Regions from separate parts of the Homo sapiens genome. Here region 1 is linked to region 2. The links are contacts of gene promoters, found by promoter capture Hi-C in blood cells and fetal thymus (Javierre and others, 2016). All regions are on one chromosome and are shown on one strand. Each heading gives the region's core, a stretch centred on a gene start or on the middle of the fragment in contact. The rest is flanking DNA. Distances are from core to core; before and after follow the strand shown. Region 1 holds the start of NR1D1 (nuclear receptor subfamily 1 group D member 1). Region 2 overlaps MED24 (mediator complex subunit 24).

Evidence for each region. Contacts are between HindIII fragments. The CHiCAGO score rates a contact against its expected background, and 5 or more counts as called.
Region 1: a contact is called between the fragment with the promoter of NR1D1 here and a fragment that was not itself captured in region 2, in 3 of 17 cell types (erythroblasts, megakaryocytes and endothelial precursors). The highest score is 7.3, in erythroblasts.

What each region holds. Positions count from the first base shown.
Region 1 is chr17:40,097,691-40,102,052 of GRCh38, reverse strand. It overlaps NR1D1 (nuclear receptor subfamily 1 group D member 1), which reads left to right and starts at 1,464. Exons shown (of 8, transcript NM_021724.5): 1 at 1,464-1,989. The coding sequence starts at 1,959. RefSeq lists enhancers at 1,099-1,218, 1,699-1,768, 1,234-2,217, 2,218-3,202, 2,121-3,320 and silencers at 2,550-2,639, 2,650-2,999, 3,523-3,817. The HindIII fragment of the contact is 2,156 bases long and covers 1,075-3,230 here.
Region 2 is chr17:40,027,547-40,032,477 of GRCh38, reverse strand. It overlaps MED24 (mediator complex subunit 24), which reads left to right. Exons shown (of 26, transcript NM_014815.4): 10 at 388-435; 11 at 858-940; 12 at 1,233-1,319; 13 at 2,619-2,730; 14 at 3,510-3,652; 15 at 4,532-4,569. It overlaps SNORD124 (small nucleolar RNA, C/D box 124), which reads left to right and starts at 4,833; the gene lies at 4,833-4,931. RefSeq lists an enhancer at 4,921-4,931. The HindIII fragment of the contact is 4,950 bases long and covers 1-4,707 here.

The sequences.
Region 1 (4,362 bases), core at 215-2,714, 70 kb before region 2:
TGATAGATCTCCTCTACTTGAGATCTGTTATTACTCATGGGACAGTTGCTGCTCTGAAGCGAAATACTGGCTGTTTTTTGTTTGTTTGTTTTGGAGACAGAGTCTCACTCTATCCCCCAGGCCGGAGTGCAATGGCGATCTCGGCTCACTGCAACCTCCACCTCCCGGGTTCTAGCGATTCTCCTGCCTCAGCCTCCTGACTAGCTGGGATTACAGGCACCCACCACCACATCCGGCTAATTTTTGTATTTTTAGTAGAGACGTGGTTTCACCGTGTTGGTCAGGCTGGTCTCAAACTCCTGACCTCAGGTGATCAACCCACCTCAGCCTCACAAAGTGCTGGGATTACAGGCATGAGCCAAAGCACCCGGCAATGCTGGCTGTTTCTAACCCCTGTTCAGTATTTCACTTGTACATCTACCCACCTTCCCATTCGGGGTGGGCAGATGAAACTAGCAATGGACGTCTGACCTTGGGTCGGTCACTTCTCCTAAGCTTCCTGTTCCCCACTAGTAAAAAGAGGGAGGCTTAAGATGATCTACATGTTCCCCTCTGAGTAGTAATCTTCTGTGGAATTCATATTTTATCCTCCAGCACCGAGGGGCAGGGGTGTCACTCTGCCCCCACCCCCTGCCTCACCTCTTCCCCATTACTTTAGGACCTCAAAGCACTTTCACTATTAGTTCCCCTCTGTTGTCCTTTTTATTTCCCAGACAAAGGGAAATGACTCACCCCAAAGTCAACTGGAGTGGGTGGAATGGTGTCATACAAGCAAACAGGGAGTCCCTACAGACATCCCTACCTCTGTGGGAACTCCTTCCCCTGGAGGTGTTCTCCCTAAGGCGAGTAGAAGGGAAAGGGGGTCACATTTCCTTTCCTTCTCTGGACTTTGCCCTGAAGCAGAGGGCAGCCTAAGCTCCTGACTCCAGGGAAATCTCCCTCCCCGGCTTCTCTCTCTCCCGGTCACCAGTAACCTCAGGACGAGGTCAGTCCTGCAATCACGTGAAGCCCTCACGTTTGCAAGGTTTGCAGAAAGGGCCTCTTAGCTTTGATCTCCCAGACAGCAAACAAGCTTGCCAGTCCCTCCCCAGAAATTCACATGCCCCTGCCATACAGGCTTTCTAAACACGCCACCCTGACTCTTCAGCGCACCCCACCCCACCCCACTCTCAGCTCCTCCCAGGTCCCGGCAAGCGCTTTGCCAGGCAGAAAGGGGAAAGGCACGCAGTCCGCCCACTTTGTCGGTGGACTACAAATCCCGACAGTCTTGTCGTTGCGCAGGCGCGCAAGAGCTCAACGTGCCGGCTGTTGGAAAAGTGTGTCACTGGGGCACGAGGCGCTCCCTGGGATCACATGGTACCTGCTCCAGTGCCGCGTGCGGCCCGGGAACCCTGGGCTGCTGGCGCCTGCGCAGAGCCCTCTGTCCCAGGGAAAGGCTCGGGCAAAAGGCGGCTGAGATTGGCAGAGTGAAATATTACTGCCGAGGGAACGTAGCAGGGCACACGTCTCGCCTCTTTGCGACTCGGTGCCCCGTTTCTCCCCATCACCTACTTACTTCCTGGTTGCAACCTCTCTTCCTCTGGGACTTTTGCACCGGGAGCTCCAGATTCGCCACCCCGCAGCGCTGCGGAGCCGGCAGGCAGAGGCACCCCGTACACTGCAGAGACCCGACCCTCCTTGCTACCTTCTAGCCAGAACTACTGCAGGCTGATTCCCCCTACACACTCTCTCTGCTCTTCCCATGCAAAGCAGAACTCCGTTGCCTCAACGTCCAACCCTTCTGCAGGGCTGCAGTCCGGCCACCCCAAGACCTTGCTGCAGGGTGCTTCGGATCCTGATCGTGAGTCGCGGGGTCCACTCCCCGCCCTTAGCCAGTGCCCAGGGGGCAACAGCGGCGATCGCAACCTCTAGTTTGAGTCAAGGTCCAGTTTGAATGACCGCTCTCAGCTGGTGAAGACATGACGACCCTGGACTCCAACAACAACACAGGTACTGAGATTTCTTTACTATCATCTTTTCCCTGTCACTGTCTCCCCACCTCCATCTACGCCTTATAAAAAGAGGAACTTTGTAAGGGACTGGGGTGTCCCTCGGCCCGGAGATTTGCTAACGTGCTGCGGTGCTTTAGTGTGGGATTTCCAGAGCGGCTTGTTCGGGCTGGAAATGCTCTCAGAAACGCCCCATCACCACCCCTCAGAGTCCCAAAGCTCCCTTGAGCCTCGAATCCCTGGGCAGGAGGAAATGGAGAGGAGGTACGGGTGGTGAAGCGAAGAATTTAGGGGGACTGGGAGCTTTGGAACAGTGCCCCGAAACGGCCCCATCTGTCCACTACCTGCAGCTGTAGTATGCCTGGCCTCAGAAAACGGACCCCCTCCCCTCTTGTCTTCCCCCTCCTCTAGTTCCTGCAGGCGCGAGGGAATCTGAGAAGAGTGGCGCGATGGGGTTCAGGGAAGGAGGGGCTGGGAGAATCGTTCGGATCTCACTGGGGAATCCTCAGTGACAGGAGGGAGCGACACTTGAGGAGTCCAGAGCGTGGTGCCCGGCCCGAGGGAGGGCACCTACAGGGCTCCGGCCGCCGGGAGGGCTCACATGGCTCTAGAGCCGGGCCCACGTGCTGCGTTTGTTTTCATTCAGCAGAAGCCGTGGCTGCCACCCCATTGGTCGTTGCCTCCCGGCCTCGTTACATAATGAGCTCCGCCCCCCCGGTCGCCCCGGCAACGCGTGTTCCCTTCTCTCCTCCCCTAGGTTGTCCTGGCCCTGCTATCGTTCGGGGTCCAGCCCACGACCTGGTGGCCGGGGAAGGGCGGGTAGGAGGCGGGGCGACTGCTCTCGATTGACGGGAAGCGAGGAGGGCGGGGCCTCGAGTTCCGGGGTTCCTCGTTGGGGAGCCACGTGCGAGAGGCACACGTGGAGCAGGGACGTGAGGCCGGCTGAGGGCCCAGCTCCCGCCCTGCCCCGCCCCGCCGAGATCTGGGTGAAGCTGGGCTGACTCACCGCCCCCGCCTGCCTCCTTTTCCGGTCCGCCTGCCCGGCCCCCTCCCCCATCACCAAAACAAAGTAACATGGAGCCATTCCTGACCTTTCATGGCCTTCTGTTTTACACTCCCTAAAGAGACCTCACCCCTAACCACCCTTCTCACTCCTTTCCACTTCACTCTTATTTGCACCTACTTCACCGTACTGCATTTAGACTCAGCTTCCCCACATTACAAATTCCTGTTCCCCAAGCTTCTCTCTCCTTAGTTCTGCGAGCATTGTCTTACCCCCATCTCCACCAGACAAGCTGCAGTTTGCCTACTAAGGGCTCCCCAAAGCAACTGCACCCCACAATCATAGCTGAAATGATACTGTCCTTTTTTTCTCACAGAAAGGAAAACTGAGACCCAAAGAGGGGAGTTGATGTCCTCTAGGTCACAAAATAAGTTGGTAGTGATGGGTCTAGACCTAGACCTAGACTCTTGAGTATGCTCCTCACTTCCACGTTGGAAGCCTCTGCATGAAGGTCTCACTCCTTTTTGGGGGATGGGTGAACTAGGTCAACTTCATTTACTGCCAACTAATGATTCCATCCCCCACCTCAGCCCTGAAACCGGGGGAGCTGATCTGTTGTGCAACTATTTTCCAAGGAGCTGGGTTCACCCTGACCAACCTTGAGCTATTTTAGGGCCGCCCTGCCCAGTTCAGTGTGTGTCAGTGGGTGAGCAAGACATGTGCCTCTGCAGACACAGTGGCATGGCATGTGTTAGGTCACATGTGTCCTGGGATCCTCCCTTCTCCCACCCCGCCCATGGCAGACCAATCTAGGTGCTTGCCGGAGGTGTGGCAGGCAGGTCACCTTTTTCTCCTGCTAATACCACGGGAGCACAGCCACCTCATTGGCAATGTAACCAGAGGGTCAAAGTCCCTGAATGGCCAGAGAGCCAAGGTCATTGTTACCAGGCTGAGATCTGAAGGGGGAATTTTAGAGCCCCAGGCTGGACAGTTTGTACTTCCACCTCCTGCAACTCGCACCTCGAAGTCCTTTTTGGACACAGGGATAGACTCCACTGTGGCTCACTCTCTTAAGAGGCCAGGGGAACCAGGCTGGGCAGATTCCTTCCCTTCATTTCCTTCAGAGAATATATGTCCCCAACTGGGGGGAATGTGACTGTCTTACTTTTGTAAACCCTCCATTCTCTTTACTGTTGGCTACCTATCTCTCCATGGTCCATGGTCTCATTCCTGGAATGGTCTTAGTGTTAAAATCAGCAGCTGGGTTTTTGTTTTTGGAGGACTGGGCACTTTGAATGGTGCTCAGCTGCCCATCCCATCCCCAGATCTTCAACTGACAACTAAGTCATTAGCTGCAGTCGATATTCCCAA
Region 2 (4,931 bases), core at 983-3,482:
TTAGCCCATTTGGCAGACTCCGTTGTTTCTTACCACAGAGGTGCAGTTTAGCTTGGTCATCAGACAGATAGGTGCAGGGCAGTAAAGGGAGCCAGGGAAAGGGGCCCCAGTCCTCCTTGAAGCTGGGGATCCACTTTTGCTTATGGCATCTTTTTCTGTTGAGCTAGCGGAGGTGCAGGGTGCTTGTGTCCTGTGCCTAGGCCTGGGGGCATCAGGGGCCTGGGCACCTATTGGCTTTCTCATTTAGCACTAAGTGTGCTCTCACTCCCAGGGTAGGAGTGTTCCTGTCTCTCTTCCTGGAGCAGGGGTTCGGGGGGATGCCTTCAGGGGTAGATGAAAGAGAAAAGAAATGGATCTTCCTGTTTTTCCCCCTGCCTCACCCCCTAGATTCCACAGGTTTTGGTGAAGTTGAAGAAGTACTCTCATGGAGACAAGGTGAGTTGGGGATTGAGATGGAGGCATGGGAGCAGAAATAAGGGCAAAGGGGAGGGTCCTTCAGGCCCCAGCTGGGCAGTGTTCTCATGCCTGGAAGAGAGCCGGATGTGAGTGTACACCTCAGCGTGCACGTGCTTCACAATGTGCATGCTTCAGCATGTGCGTGTGCTTCAGCATGTGCGTGTGCTTCAGTGTGTGCGTGCTTCAGTGTGTGTGTTTCAGCGTGTGTGTGCTTCAGCGTGTACGTGTGCTTCAGCCAGTGTGTGTGCTTCAGCGTCTGCGTGCACCCACAACATACACCCAGGCTCCAGGCAGAAAGCAGCCAGGCAACTCAGGCCGATGCCTCCAGCAGACAAGGTTGCCTGAGATGATCAGGGCCTGGTGGCCCTGGAAACCAGATGGACACTTCTGCCTCTTTCTAGGACTTCACTGAGGATGTCAACTGTGCTTTTGAGTTCCTGCTGAAGCTCACCCCCTTGTTGGACAAAGCTGACCAGCGCTGCAAGTATGAGCTCCCCTGGTCACCCCCGCCCTACTGGAAGGCGTTCTGGGCTCTTCCCCTGATCTCTGTGCCAGAGAAGCCTCAGGGGACTCTGTCTCCTTGTTCACTCCCCTTGGCAGGGGCAGGAAATAGGAGCCCACAGTTGCCAAGTCCCCAGAGCCCCTCTACCGTCCCTCAGGCACTCCAGATTTTCCTCATCCTGAAAGAGGGAGGATGCTGCTCAGGGACCTGCCACTCCCACCCCTCACCATCCTATCCAGGTGCCCAGTTCCCTCAGCATCTTTCTCCCTCACAGCTGTGACTGTACAAACTTCCTGCTCCAAGAATGTGGCAAGCAGGGGCTTCTGTCTGAGGCCAGCGTCAACAACCTTATGGCTAAGCGGTAAGTGTGAACGCACCTGTGCTACCCCAAGAGCCCCTTGACCTCTCTCTTGTTACGGTGGGGCTGCTGCGTGCCTTTCAACCTCCTGTCGAAAGTTTGGGCTGCAAGTGACTGGGACCGTGCCTGGGGGTACAGGGAACAGGAAGGAAAAGAAAGCACAGATGTCTTCAGACCAGAGTTTTACACTCTTAGTCACTGCTCTTTAACTCATACCCATCTTTGTGATAAAAGTAAAAATCCTAGGCTGGAGGCGGGTGGATTACTTGGAGGCCAGGAGTTCAAGACCAGCCTGCCCAACATGGCAAAACCCCATGTCTACTAAAAATACAAAAATCAGCTGGGCGTGGTGGTGTGTGCCTGTAATCTCAGCTACTCTGGAGGCTGAGGCACGAGAATTGCTTGAACCCAGGAGGCGGAGATTGTGGTGAGGCGAAATCATGCCACTGCACCCCAGCCTGGGCGATAGAGTGAGACCTTGTCTCAAAAAAAAAATAAATAAATAAATAAAAATCCTGAATCTTCCTTTAATCTTAAATGTGCTTTCAGAGCATTTAAGACTAATGATAGGCCGGCTGCGGTGGCTCACACCTGTAATCCCAGCATTTGGGAGGCCAAGGCGGGTGGATCACGAGGTCAGGAGTTTGAGACCAGCCTGGCCAACGTGGTGAAACCCCATCTCTACTAAAAATACAAAAATTAATCAGGCGCGATGGTATGCACCTGTAATTCCAGCTACTCAGGAGGCTGAGGCAGGAGAATCACTTGAACCCGGAAAGCAGAGGTTGTACTGAGCTGAGATCGCGCCACTGCATTCCAGCCTGGGTGACAGAGCGAGACTCTGTCTCAAAAAAAAAAAAGACTAATGATAAATTGCCAGGTGTGCTGGCTCACCTGTAATCCCAGGACTTTGGGAAGCCAAGGTGGGTGGATCACCTGAGGTCAGGAGTTTGAGACCAGTAGAACATGGTGAAACCCCGTCTCTACTAAAAATACAAAAAAGTAGCCAGGCGTGGTGGTGAGCGCCCAGCTACTCTGGAGGCAGAGGCTGCAGTGAGCCGAGATCGTGCCACTGTACTCCAGCCTGGGCAACAGAGTGAGACCTGTCTCAAAAAAAAAGACTAATGCTAAATCAGTGATTGCAACATTGACTATGCTTCCATAAACTTCACCCCAACCTCGGAGGTTCTTACATGCTTCCCACCTCCTCTGCGCATTTCCTTCCGGGCTTGAACGAGGGAACGTGTCAAGAATTTCTCTTCATTCCTCTTCCCTTCCTTGGCCAACTGGTGATGTCCACAGCAAAGCGGACCGAGAGCACGCACCCCAGCAGAAATCGGGAGAGAATGCCAACATCCAGCCCAACATCCAGCTGATCCTCCGGGCGGAGCCCACTGTCACAAACATCCTCAAGGTGAGTGTGCCCTTCCCTGGCCACCACAGTCTTCTCTTTCTTCTTTCCAGTGCTCCATCTGCTTGCAGATAAATAAACAGAGGCCACAGACCTCTGTCTCCTTTAGCTTTTATACATAGTTGCTTTGGAGGTAGTGAAAGGGGAGGCAAGGGCAGCTACCACTGAATGCTAACCCGTGGGAGCTTCATTTGTACACCAGGCACTGCAGTAGGCGCTTTCACTTAGGCCATCTCACATGGAAACAACAGAGACGTGGGTGCGGTGGCTCACGCCTGTAATCCCAGCATTTTGGGAGGCTGAGGTGGGAAGATCCCTTGAGGTCAGGAGTTTGAGACCAGCTTGGCCAGCGTGGTGAAACCCAGTCTCTACTAAAAACACAAAATTCACTGGGTGTGGTGGTGCATGCCTGTAATCCCAGTTACTTGGGAGGCTGAGGCAGGAGAATCGCTGAACCCTGGGGGGCAGAGGTTGCAGTGAGCCAAGATCGCACCACTGCACTCCAGCCTCAGCGATAGAGCGAGACTCTGTCTAAAAAAGGAAAGGACAGAGAAGATCCTAGCCGTGACCTTGCCCACTCCAACCTTACCACCTGCATGCCAGTGTAGATGAGAGGGATGGATCGGAGAGCAGGGGTGGGTTTTAGGAATGATTTTCCAGATTGAAGTCAGAAAGATGTAGATTACATTCCAGGTTGTGAAGAGAGAAAATGTGGCTAGGCTGTATCTTGGGTGGGGGGTCTTCAGTGTTCTTCAGGACTTGATTTCCTGTCCTGTCCCCAGACGATGGATGCAGACCACTCTAAGTCACCGGAGGGACTGCTGGGAGTCCTGGGCCACATGCTGTCCGGGAAGAGTCTGGACTTGCTGCTGGCTGCCGCCGCCGCCACTGGAAAGCTGAAATCCTTCGCCCGGAAATTCATCAAGTGAGGAAGGCCAAGCCCCTGACCCCAGGGCGTGCAGGGAGGCTGCGCGTTGGGAGGAGGTAGCAGGGTAGGAGTCAGGTGCCTGGGTCTGGGTCTCATCCAGAGACCCACGGGCCTAGGCAGAGCATCCTGGCTGGAGATCTTGGAGGAAGGGCCTGTTCTCACGACCTAAGTGTTCCTTTCTCTTCAGCTGAGGATGGAGTGGACATGTTTGGTAAAGAGATGAGGGTAAGGGTTGAGGTGTTGAACATTGGGCATGGAGGAATTCCAAGTATGCCCAGTTATTAATAAGGGGCTCTCAAATTCTGTTGCCTTTTTTGATTGCCCTGGAATTTGACATATATAGAACATGGTTCCATTCAGTGAGCCATTCTCTAGGCCTTGGAAATCTTCTAACAATAAAAATCCTTCTGGCCGGGTGCGGTGGCTCACGCCTGTAATCCTAGCACTTAGGGAGGCCAAGGTGGGCGGATCACCTGAGGTCAGGAGTTCAAGACCGGCCTGGCCAACTTGGTGAAACCCTGTCTCTACTAAAAATACAAAAAATTAGCCGGGTGTGGTGGCGGGCACCTGTAATCCCAGCTACTTGGGAGACTGAGGCAGAAGAATTGCTTGAACAGAGGCGGAGGTTGCAGTGAGCTGAGATTGTGCCACTGCACTCCAGCCTGGGTGACAGAGCGAGACTCTTTCTCAAAAAAAACAAAAAAAAAACAAAAAACAAAAACCACAAAAACCTTTTTTCTATAGCAATGTGTCTCATTTTAAGTTTAACCAGTAACTCAGACTCTAGCTATCGCTCTCTGAACATGTGTAGCCCCAGCGCCCAGCTACTGCTCAGCTCATGCCCTGGTCAATGCAGCCTGTCTCCATTCCTTTCAGTTTGAATGAATTCACAACCTATGGCAGCGAAGAAAGCAGTAAGTCAGCCCTGTGCATCCGCAGGCCCAGTGGGCCCTGAGGAGGGGTGTGGCGGGAGAGTGTGGGAGGGAGGAGGGCTCCCCAGCTCAACAGGGGGAGGCTGTGCTCCCTCCTCAGAGCCATGACCAATGGAAGCTTCCACAGAGCTTGAAAGTGGATAATGCTGGAAAAGGATTCTTCCCAGACCATCCCTGTGTCTCCTTCCCCCCCTCATCCCTTTACGACTTGGTTAGGTATGCCAGGAGAGGGTGCTGGGGGTCTTTGGTCTCAAGGAAGGGATGATGTTCCAGTTGAGACTCAAGAAAAGGATTCTGAGCCTCAGAGCTTTGAAGGAGCCACTTGGTCCCTGACCTTCCTAGAG